Regions from separate parts of the Homo sapiens genome. Here region 1 is linked to region 2. Evidence: promoter capture Hi-C in human tissues and cell types (Jung and others, 2019). All regions are on one chromosome and are shown on one strand. The core of a region is centred on a gene start or on the middle of the fragment in contact, and the rest is flanking DNA. Distances in the headings are between cores, read along the strand shown. Region 1 overlaps NCAM1 (neural cell adhesion molecule 1). Region 2 holds the start of BCO2 (beta-carotene oxygenase 2).

Evidence for each region. Contacts are between HindIII fragments. The study calls those that stand out against the background at their distance.
Region 1: a fragment that was not itself captured here is called in contact with the fragment with the promoter of BCO2 in region 2 in 1 of the 25 tissues and cell types used here (dorsolateral prefrontal cortex).

The regions. Positions count from the first base shown.
Region 1 is chr11:113,255,577-113,261,051 of GRCh38, reverse strand. It overlaps NCAM1 (neural cell adhesion molecule 1), which reads right to left. Exons shown (of 20, transcript NM_181351.5): 16 at 5,051-5,175; 17 at 729-906. Among named protein-coding and RNA genes, the nearest start is that of NCAM1-AS1, 16 kb to the left of the region's middle. The HindIII fragment of the contact is 4,981 bases long and covers 1,501-5,475 here.
Region 2 is chr11:112,173,468-112,178,897 of GRCh38, reverse strand. It overlaps BCO2 (beta-carotene oxygenase 2), which reads right to left and starts at 3,386. Exons shown (of 12, transcript NM_031938.7): 1 at 3,209-3,386. The coding sequence starts at 3,296. RefSeq lists a silencer at 859-1,025. The HindIII fragment of the contact is 3,487 bases long and covers 2,183-5,430 here.

The DNA.
Region 1 (5,475 bases), core at 2,742-5,241, 1.1 Mb before region 2:
GTTGAAGAGCTCCTTCTTCTCTGAGGGATTTGGCCAAAAAGGAGACCAGCAAGGTTAGGTCTTGGATCCCTGGAGACAGATCTGTATCTCCTAGGAGAACTGCTGCCATCACAGTCTCTAGCAGACCGGATTGCTTTCATTGATGGTGCTTTCCAGCATCTATTTTCTCCACTTGTTCTATTACAAGTGGTTCAATTTAATCTGTTTCCATTGAGAGGCCTTTGGTAGATAGGGTTTGTAAGTAAATGGGCATCATCTCTTCCTTCTCTTAGGGTCACCACAGAGAAGAGATTTGGACCATGGCTGTGCTCATAAAGCAAGCATCAGATAGGAAGTGCTTAGAAACAGTTATGTGGTCCAAGTATGATGTGGCAGATGGCAGATAAGGTCTCAAAAAAGGATCCTTACTCAACCAACTTCCAAGGCTAGGCTGGAGCTGGGGCATTTCCCATCTGAGGGGTCCAATGGACTGATTGGCATCAGTCCTTCAAGGCCAAATGGGACAGGACCTTTTCTCCAGGATGCTTGGCCAAGCCTTCCTGGGGGTCCAGTACATCTCACCCCACTGCACAGATAGGTACAAGGCAAAACTAAGCTTTGCATGGGCAACCAATCATGAGGATGGCTGTAAGCAAGCAAGTTGTCAGGGTTGTTCAGGCGCATTAGGAGGTGCAGCACTTGTGCATTAATTCAAAGCGGAAACAAACAGAAAGCAGAGGCAGCCATACCTGGGATGGCTGTGGGCTGGGCCGAGGTCCTGAACACAAAATGAGCCGCCTTGGATTTTCCTTGCTGGTTCTCAGCCACCACGTAGACCTCATACTCAGCATTCCAGTCCAGGGACTTCAGCATGACGTGGTCACTGCCAGACGGGAGCCTGATCTCTGGTTTCCACTCGGAGGAGAGCTTCTGGGAGAAACCGGCAAGAAGGATACAAGAGACCAAAAAAGCTTTAGATAAAAGTACTGGTAAGACCAGACAATAGGCAAAACTTACGGGACTCAATAACTTTTGGCATGAAATCATGAAAATAAGAAGCAATGATGGGGGTGGGCGCGGTGGCTCATGCCTATAATCCTAGCCACCTTGGGAGGCCGAGGCGGGTGGATCACTTGAGGTCAGGAGTTCAAGACCAGCCTGGCCACCATAGTGAAAACCCGTCTGTACTAAAAATACAAAAATTAGCTGGGCGTGGTGCCACACACCTGTAGTCCCAGCTACTCTGGAGGCTGAGGCAAGAGAATGGCTTGAACCCAGGAGGTGGAGGTTGCAGTGAGCCGAGATAATGCCACTGCACTCCAGCCTGGGTGACAGAGCAAGACTCTGTCTCCAAAAAAAAAAAAAAAAAAAAGCAATGATGGGACATGGTCTTTATTCTTTACCAGCCTGAAAAATTGCACAGGTCAGGAGGTCAACTTTGCATGCTGGCAAACACAAGCAACAGCAGATGCCAGTGTGGCATTGGGCCAACACCGTCAAGGTCCCATCACCTTCAGGGCATGCAGAGACTCAAGCACCACTCCTGTCTCCCAGGCTACACTCTGGTGCTGGGGACATATGCATAAGGATGTCCTAGAAGAGTAATAAAACAAGTACATTTCTTGTCATATTTCAGGATGCTGCTTAAGTTAAAGTGGCTGACTCACCTTCCTGATGTGTGAATACTGTGTAGATTCCAGTTTCGTTAAAAATGAAAACTATGGCCGGGCGCGGTGGCTCACGCCTGTAATCCCAGCACTTTGGGAGGCCGAGGCGGGCGGATCACGAGGTCAGGAGATCGAGACCATCCCGGCTAAAACGGTGAAACCCCGTCTCTACTAAAAATACAAAAAATTAGCCGGGCGTAGTGGCGGGCGCCTGTAGTCCCAGCTACTTGGGAGGCTGAGGCAGGAGAATGGCGTGAACCCGGGAGGCAGAGCTTGCAGCGAGCCGAGATCCCGCCACTGCACTCCAGCCTGGGCGACAGAGCGAGACTCCGTCTCAAAAAAAAAAAAAAAAAAATGAAAACTATTTTTGTTGAGCCCTTACTAAGAGCTAGGCACTACAAAAGCTTTACACACATTTTCTTGTTGTATTCCTACAACATGCCTGTGGGGTTTTGTCAGGCTCTTACTAAACCCAGTGATGGGGAAGTGAGAGAGAAGTAAGGTGACTAACGTAAAATCACACCTGCAGTCAAGGCTGGAGCTAAGTTCGTTTGGGCCCAAAACTATGATCTTTCCTTTTTTTTGTTTTTCTTAATTGTGTTCTTGAAAATAACAGTTTTAATTGATACAAAATAGCTATACAGATTTTCAGGGTACATGTGATAATTTAATACATTCACTTAATTTGTAAAGATCAAGTCAGTATAATTGAAATATCCATCACCTTAAATATTTTTCTCTGGGCTAGAAACATTTGAGTTATTTTCTTCTAGCTAGTTTGAAATATACAATAGGTAATTGTGAACTACAGTCACCCTACTGATCTATCAAACACTTGGCCGTATTTCTCCTATCAAACTGTATTTGTTTCCATCAATCAATCTCTCTTTGTCTTCTCCTCCTCTCATGATCTTTCCCTTCTATAGTAGGGAGCTCAGCAAACATCTGTTGGACTGAATAAGGTTTTTCTATTCCATGCAGTGTGACCTGGTCTCTACAACGGCAGCAAATAGATGGAGGTACCTCGGGACTAAGTTCTGCTGTCAAGTCCAACAGTGGGCTGCTCAAAGGGCCCACAAAGAACAATAATTAGGTAACCACCTCCCTCACCAAACAGTTTGTGGAAGAAGGCCTGAGAAGTCTTCAGATGGTTTCACCATTGCACAGCCCATCTCTTTGCAATCTTTGGCCTTTTCACAAGGCAGGTGCCCTGGGATATCTGCTGGGCACACAAGAAGTCTTGATAGATGTTTATTGCATGACAGGCTGCTCCTTGGAAGGGCAGAACACAATAGCACTGTCACCTGGACAGTGGTCTAGTAACTGTTGTAGGCCCATGGCTAAGGCTGGATGAGGAGTTATCTTACAGCAAAGCAGTCCTCCCAGGCAAAAGGGTTTGCACTAGCCAAAGAGATGCCTTTAGGAATGTGACAGTGCTCATGCTGCATGGGCAAATGCCAGTGGTGCTGGAAGGGGAATTCTAGTTTCCTTAGAGTCTAACCAGTCTGGCTATGCTGTAAGCTAGGATGTGTATATATCACTATGTGGCCCCACTTTCATTTAAAAGAAAGCAATTCCGGTATCTTTCCTCTTCATTTCTCTGTCTTCCTTGGCAAACATCATTATACAAGAGACAACCAGAATCTAGAGAAAATGTTATATTATACTTATTCATAATATAAAATTATAATATTTAGCAAACATGAATGAGGTTTTGAAGTGAGAGAGGGTGGTTACGGTTGTTGAAATCTAACATATTTCAGCGTTGTGCCCAGCTGTGTCTTTCTAATGCAGAGCTGCCTGCTGCAGCCACAGTGGCTCCTCAGACAAACTGACATCCGACATGGTTGGAGATGTCATACGGGAGATGGTTCCAGCCTGAGCCTGCCTCTTAGCAGTAACCATAGTGACCATTTATAAAGGTTTCCAAGTGTCAGGTGCATTTCAGGTTCTTTGCATATATTATAATGCATCTTTATAACAACTCAATAAGCTATTTTATCCCCATTTTACAGATGGAGAAATTGAAGTTCTGAAAGATTAGGTGACCTATTCTTCCAGAATAAGTAGTAAAGCTAGAATTGGATGCCATGTCTGTCTGGCTCTAAAACCTATGTTCTGTCCATGGGGCCACATCAGGATAACCATTGGAAAGGCATCCCAGCCTACCACATCTCTGCTTCCAGGGGTATATTGGGGGCCACCTGCCCAATCCTTGCACCCTACTTGGCAGTGAGGAAGCCATGGGGACCTCTCATTCACTGGGATCTCTGGACTGGGCCTCAGGGCAGTGACAGGCCTTTCCTACTATTTCAGCTCACATCTGCTTACAAATTAAGTGGGAACAAGGCCTCTGCAGCTGAGAAGTATGCCTGCGGGGCTCTGTGCTGAACTGACTTGCCAGAAGACTAGCTAGTTAAAGACCTATCACTTCCACAGGAGCTGATCACAAGGCAGAGAGGAAGTAACTCAGCTTCCCAGAAAAAGTCTTCCTTGGGGCTATGTGAAGAAAGGAAACTGCTCCCTGGTTCATTCTTTTCTCTACTACGAAACCCCAGCAAGAGGTTATTCTCAGTGCTCAGATGTGGCCTCTAAATCTCTCAGCCATTGGTTATAGTTGAAGATGACCAAGTGTCATTCTAAAACCAAAATGGAAAGGGTGATTTTCAGTGTGGGGGTTGTGATAAAAGGTGGAATGAGGGGAATCTTAAGTGGGTGGTGAGCAAACCAGGAGAAGGTGGCTTAGAGCCAACTTGCTGTTAGCAGGATTAGGACAGCTCAGGTGGCCAAGTGAAGGGCTGGTGAGGGAACTGGCATTGTTTGAGGACCTTAGGCAGCCTTGGGCAGTGGGGAGAGCCCAGCCTCTCAGTCAGGCTTGGATTCAAACTGCCTCACCCAGCTGCGTGAGATCCAGCAGTTATTGACTGCTGTACACCCACTTACTTCATCTGTAAAGAGGGGATAATGGTAAGACCTACTGTACAGGGTTCTTGTGCAGAGAAAATGCATGTGATCACAGTGAGGTGCAGGTGCCTGGCCTACAATACACATGTTATCCAAGGTAGGGATTCTTATATATTAGTATGGCATTTACAAGAAGTACTAGATAATGGCAAAATAACTTTGTAGAAAAGTTCAAGACACAGAAAAATCAACCATGGTATGGGTTTGTCACCACCACAGTCATCTATGAGGTTTCCAAATGGACCCAGTGTGAACATGACCTAATAGCTGTAGGGCTGTCTTGGGATTTTAAGCCATGGCCAGGGCCCATGGGCCACCTGCCAGACACAGAATAAGACCCCATCCCACCCCTGCCCCGTGGGCTGCCCCTGTTGTTTCCCTAGCAAGCTGGGTGCCAGGGTTGCAGGGTTCTGGTGAAGTCTGAGAAGGAGGCCACTCACCGCTCGGTACCTGACCAGATAGTGTCTGATGGGGGAGCCGCCGTCATCCTGCTTGATCAGGTTCACTTTAATAGAGTTTCCATCCTCTCCCATCTGCCCTTCGAGCTTAGGTGCACTGGGTTCCCCTGAAACAGCCAGTTAATTCACATGAAATTCTCATCCACAGAATGAAAATCCAACCCATCTGAATGGGATGGAGTGACAGGGTGGGGCTGGACACTTTTCTTGCTTTCTCAGAAATTCAAATGGTTAAAAAGCAATAAATATAAAACTGAATTCCAGGTAGATGCCTCAGACTGAGCCCAAACTGAGAGTGCCTCTTGGGAATGTTCTGGTAAATAGCCTTCCTGTGAGCAGGGTCCTTTCACCATTTTAGGAATAGGCTTTTTTTTTTTTTTTTTTTTCCCCTGTCTCACTGGTACTTA
Region 2 (5,430 bases), core at 2,137-4,636:
CGTTGTTATAAAAATGACCACCATTCAATATTATCCAATTATATTGACCCCAGTAATTTAGATATACCAGAATGTGATTCCAAAGACTTCATAGCGATTCCTGTGAATTTAATAAGATCTTAAATTTAATTCCTTTTATTTTAATGGCATATACATGAAAATACAAGGCATTTTCCAGTAGAAGGGTGTCAAAAATTAAATTATGCAGTGATATCCAGTCTGAAATTACCTAAAGTGCAAAAGGCACAAGAAGTAAAAATCATAGTTGTATAATAAGGAACTGAAACTTCTCCCTATTATTTTAACATTACTGAGTGTTCACAAGGCAGTACTGCCTAACATAGAGGGGTGGTCAAATAAATAATTAAGTGCTATAAAATAGAATTCTTTATCTCATAAAAGTTTAAGAGTGATTCAGAAATCTAGGCTAGAAAAATGAGCTAACATATAGGGACACTATTACTCTGAAGAAGTGAGATTTGCATTCTTTTAGCAAGTTGTTACTATCCCATTTCTTTCAAATCTTTCAAAAATTCAGCTTGAAGCACACGAGACATTCTACTCCCCTATATGACATGTAACAAATGAGTCAAACCTAATTCTTTACTGATTTTTCAAATAAAATTCTCTTTCACCCTGAATGTCTTTCCCAATGTCCTTTTCTCTAGTTCTAAGAAAATTCCAGCGGGGCACGGTGGTTCAAGTCTGTAATCCCAGCACTTTGGGAGGCCAAGGCAGGTGGATCACCTGAGGTCAGGAGTTCGAGACCTGTCTGGCCAACATAATGAAAGCCCATCTTTACTAAAAATACAAAAAAAAAAAATAGCCGGGTGTGTTGGCCGACCCCTGTAATCCCAGCTACTCAGGAGCTGAGGCAGGAGAATCGCATTGAACCCAGGAGACAAAGGTTGCAGTGAGCCGAGATCGCAGCACTGCACTCCAGCCTGGGCAACAAGAGCGAAACTTCGTCTCAAAAAAAAAAAAAAAAGCAAATTCCATTAATTGGTCAAGGTCTATCTCCAGTGTTACAGTACTTCCCTTAAGAGGCAGCACAGTGTAATATTTAAGGGTGTGAGCTGGGGCTCTACCTGGCTCCAGACTGGTTGGTTTCAAATATGCCCTCTCCTAAATAAGAAGGCTTGAGAAAGGCACTTATCACCTCTCTGTGGTCTGTTTCCTCTTTTCTAAGATGGTGATGATGATAATTCATATTACTTCTAAGGCTATAAGTAATAAATGAGTTAGTTTATGTAAAGCTTTTAGAACAGAATACTCAAAAAATGCTATTATTATATTTACATAGCTTTTAATGATCAGTCCAATAAGGTGTAATATCTCCTTTATTTTATTCAGTTGACGAAGTACTTGGTACTGCTGAGAATAAAAAGCATTAGAATCCTGAAATAAAAGAACTGACTGCCTAGTAAACAGATCACTGACACTGTGTTTTATTTCAGCATTGTTTCTCAGAGTCTGGTATGAGGACTACTTGCAACAGAAATACCTGGTGTTACTGCTAAAATGCAGTTTCCTGGACTCCATTCTGGTCCTAATAAATCAGAATCTCTGGGGAAGGACAAGCAGGTATTCTTAAGCATACTAAAATCTGGGAACTACAGTATCAGAAGTACAAAGAGGATGCTTTGAAAAGATAGAGAAGGAAACTCTCAGGTATTTATGTTACTCTACTTTTATTAACATTATGCACCATTTATCTTATTCTCAGATTAAAATAAATTCCCTAAGGTCAGGTATGTAATTTTACTCATCTTACTTTTTTAAGTAAATTGAATGGCCTGATTGGGCATTTGTCTAAGTAGAGATACACAAATTTAAAGCATTTTACATTGTAGAAAATATTTACATGTCTATATGTTGTATACTCTATTGCATGCTACTGGTAATCTGCTACATGCTCTTCAAAGTTTCCATAGAATTTGACATTAACACTTTCTTAAACTCCTTTCTATTCGTAGCTTCTGAGACATTGTCCTATTCTAACTTTCCTGCTGCCCTATAACTACTCTCTGCATTCTGCTAGTTTTATTACTTATTAGCTGACAACCTTGGGCAAGTTACTTAATGTCTCTGAGCCTCAGGTTTTTCCATGATAAAATGGAAATAAAAGGAGGTTAATACTTCCTGTTTATGTCTGTTGTCATAATCAAATATAAAGATAGTGGATGCTTTCCAAATGTTAATTCCCTTTATGGGCTCCTTATCCCCCTTACCACTTCATGAATGTTCCTAAGGTCCTACCTTGGATCTTTAATCTCAGCACTCTCCCTTGGCAATCTCATCTAGTCTCTTAATTTCATCAATTACTTCTTGCAGGTGACTTTCAACATGTCAAAATAGAATGTTTAATTCCCCCCCCCCCGCCAATCAATTTTCTTCATCTAGGATATTTCCCAACTCCTTCAGATGAAATTTACTCACCTAACTCATCCTTCAAGATCCAGTTGCCATGTCATTTGCTTTATAAACACAGCATTCCCCTTACCTACAGCAAGAACTGATTCTCCTTAGTCTGAACTCACAGCATCTGTTTATAGCTCTCATATGGACCTTATCTTATCTGTCTTGTATGATAAATGATACTACCAGTACTCCTTGAGTACAGGGTCTGGTGTTTGTCTCCTCTCTCCTTCCAGTACGTAATACATTCCCTTGCATACTGCAAACATTAAATTACTACATTAAGTAATTTTAAAATTTATAGTGCATATTAGTATGATTTCTGAAAGCTCTAGATCAGCCAATTTCTATACATAAAATCATGTAACAATGGTAACTATAATAGAAGGCTATAAAACATAAATGAGTTTTAAGGCAGTCCCCGCAAAATGCAAATAGAGAAACCAAACAATTACATTAGAACGTGTGGCAGTGATTTTTCAATTTAGAAAAGCCTAAATATTGAATATTCTTCTTATTGCAAATCCCAAAGAATACCAAGTCCCTGAATCCTGCCTTAAATATTGCATAAAATATACAAATGTGAAGGCTGTTTCCCTGACCATGAGGAAACAATCCTAACTCAGCCTTCTTTAACTTCCAGGACTCTGCGGAATTGCTATCTCATCTGAGCCACACAGGACACAAAGCTTCAGAAGCTCCCAGCAACCTTCAGGAAAGAGGCACAGAATTCTAAGCGCAGACTGGCAAGAAGAGGAGGATGAGGAAGAGAAAGGGGCAAACCCTCTACCTGGGAGCCGGTGCACCATCACAGGAAGGAAATCCACTGCAGTGGCAGAATGACTCCTGATAAAATGGAGAAAGACTCGAAAAAACATTTTTGTATTGAGCAGATCCAGTGATTTCCAAATCCTCTCACACTGGCAGTTTTGAGTACTACTAAACAGTGAACACGCACAGAACTGCCTGGACTGTCCCTCCCTCACTGACAGGTCAAAGAGAGGACGCAGCTTAAGGGGCGGGGCTTATTTCCATGACAACCGTCCAAACACCCTAGCTATAATACGCAGCTGTTTGAAATATTAAAATTAGACCACCAATAGTGGTCTCCCCCGCCCTAAACTTTTCTTTTTCAAACCTGTTCTCACACTACAGTTAAGTCCGTTTATCCTGATGCACAGCATCAATTTTTTTATGCCACTCCTCTTCTGGAAGATTCCGACACAGAATAAAGTCCGAATTTAGACTGCCACTAGAGGACGCTACAATCTGGCAACAATTTACCTTTCATCCTTTTTCTCTGCCTTTAAATCACTTCATCCTTCCTTTTCTTTTCTATTCATTAATTTTACAGAACATTTTCTGACAATCTAGCATGAGTGAAAGTATGCCCTTAAAATGTATATGACTTTATTAACATTTTTAGCACCAATGTAGCAAATACTGTGCTACAAAGTAAGAATACCAAGAAACAAGATTGTCCCTGCTCTCCAGTTTAGACCATACACTATTCCCCTTCATGAATTATCATCCCAGCAAAGTGACTAACATACCATGATACGTTTGTTCTTCTGTGCCACTGAAGAAACTTTTCCCCTGCCTGAAATATCCCCTTTCCTTTTCAAAAATCCAATTTAAAATCTACCTCTCTGACTCCCTTACCAAAAGGTCTTCTAGTAACTCCCACAGCACTGCCACAGAGTTGCTTTTAACATTAACATATCATGTTTTCCTAGCAAAATTGTATTTCAAGAAAGAAGTGGTTAAAATTGTCAGAAGGGAGTGTCTTAATACATATAGCAGAGTACGAAGATAGTTCGGTATATATTTTGATTAGTAATCAATGAAAAATAACTTATAAATTTGTGATATTTTATTGAAATAGTAAAGAGTAACATTAGAAGTGTAAATTAAAGGGCAATAGTATTCCTGCAATAGCATTTCTCCAGTTGTGAGATAATAATAATTATTATTATTTTCTGAGACAGAGTCTCACTCTGTCACCCAGGCTGGAGTAGAGTGGCACAATCTCGGTTCACTGCAACCTCTGTGTCCCGGGTTCAAGTGATTCTCCTATCTCAGCCTCCTGAGTAGCTGGGACTACAGGTGTACGCCACCATACCCAGCTACTTTTTTTAATTTTTATTAGAGACAGGGTTTTGCCACGTTGGCCAGGCTGGTCTCGAACTCTTGACCTCAAGTGATCTGCCTGCCTCAGCCTTTCAAACTGCTGGGATTACAGGTGTGAGCCACCATGCCTGGCCAAGATAATTACTCTTGTCTACGTGGATGGTACCAAAGCCATCCAAATTTGATTTAAAAAATAAGCCTTCGACACCCAAGAATGATCAATAAAAAAATAAATAAATAAGCCTTCATGATTAGGCTTTCAGGCACCTTTATACTACAAGGTATAACAATTCTGAACAGTGCTGAACAGTAAACACATTGTGACTTAAAATCAGTTCTCCAGTCTTAATCATATCAAATGAAATGATCAAATCAATTTACTGAACCTGCAAAGGGAAGAACTAGATGTTAAACAATGGTGATACCATCAGGATATAACAAGTATATTATGAAATCTAGTCTCAAACAATCTGTTGGCCTTATTTTTCATATTAGTAATAAATGCTTAGAAAAAGAACATTTCTTAATGATGGTAGGTCGAAATCCAGATGACATGTCGTATTAACTCACAAATCTTCTTGTTGTATTTAGTTTTAAAAAATTTCCTTTTGGCCGGGCGAGTGGCTCATGCCTGTAATCTCAGCATTTTGGGAGGCTGAGGTGGGTGGGTCACCTGAGGTCAGGAGTTCGAGACCAGCCTGGCCAACATGGCAAAACCCCGTCTCTACTAAAAATACAAAAATTAGCCGGGTGTGGTGGCAGGCGCCTGTAATCCCAGCTACTCAGGAGGCCGAGGCAGGAGAATCACTTGAACCCAAGAGGCAAAGGTTGTAGTGAGCCAAGATCGCACCACTGCACTTCAGCCTAGGTAACAGAGCAAGA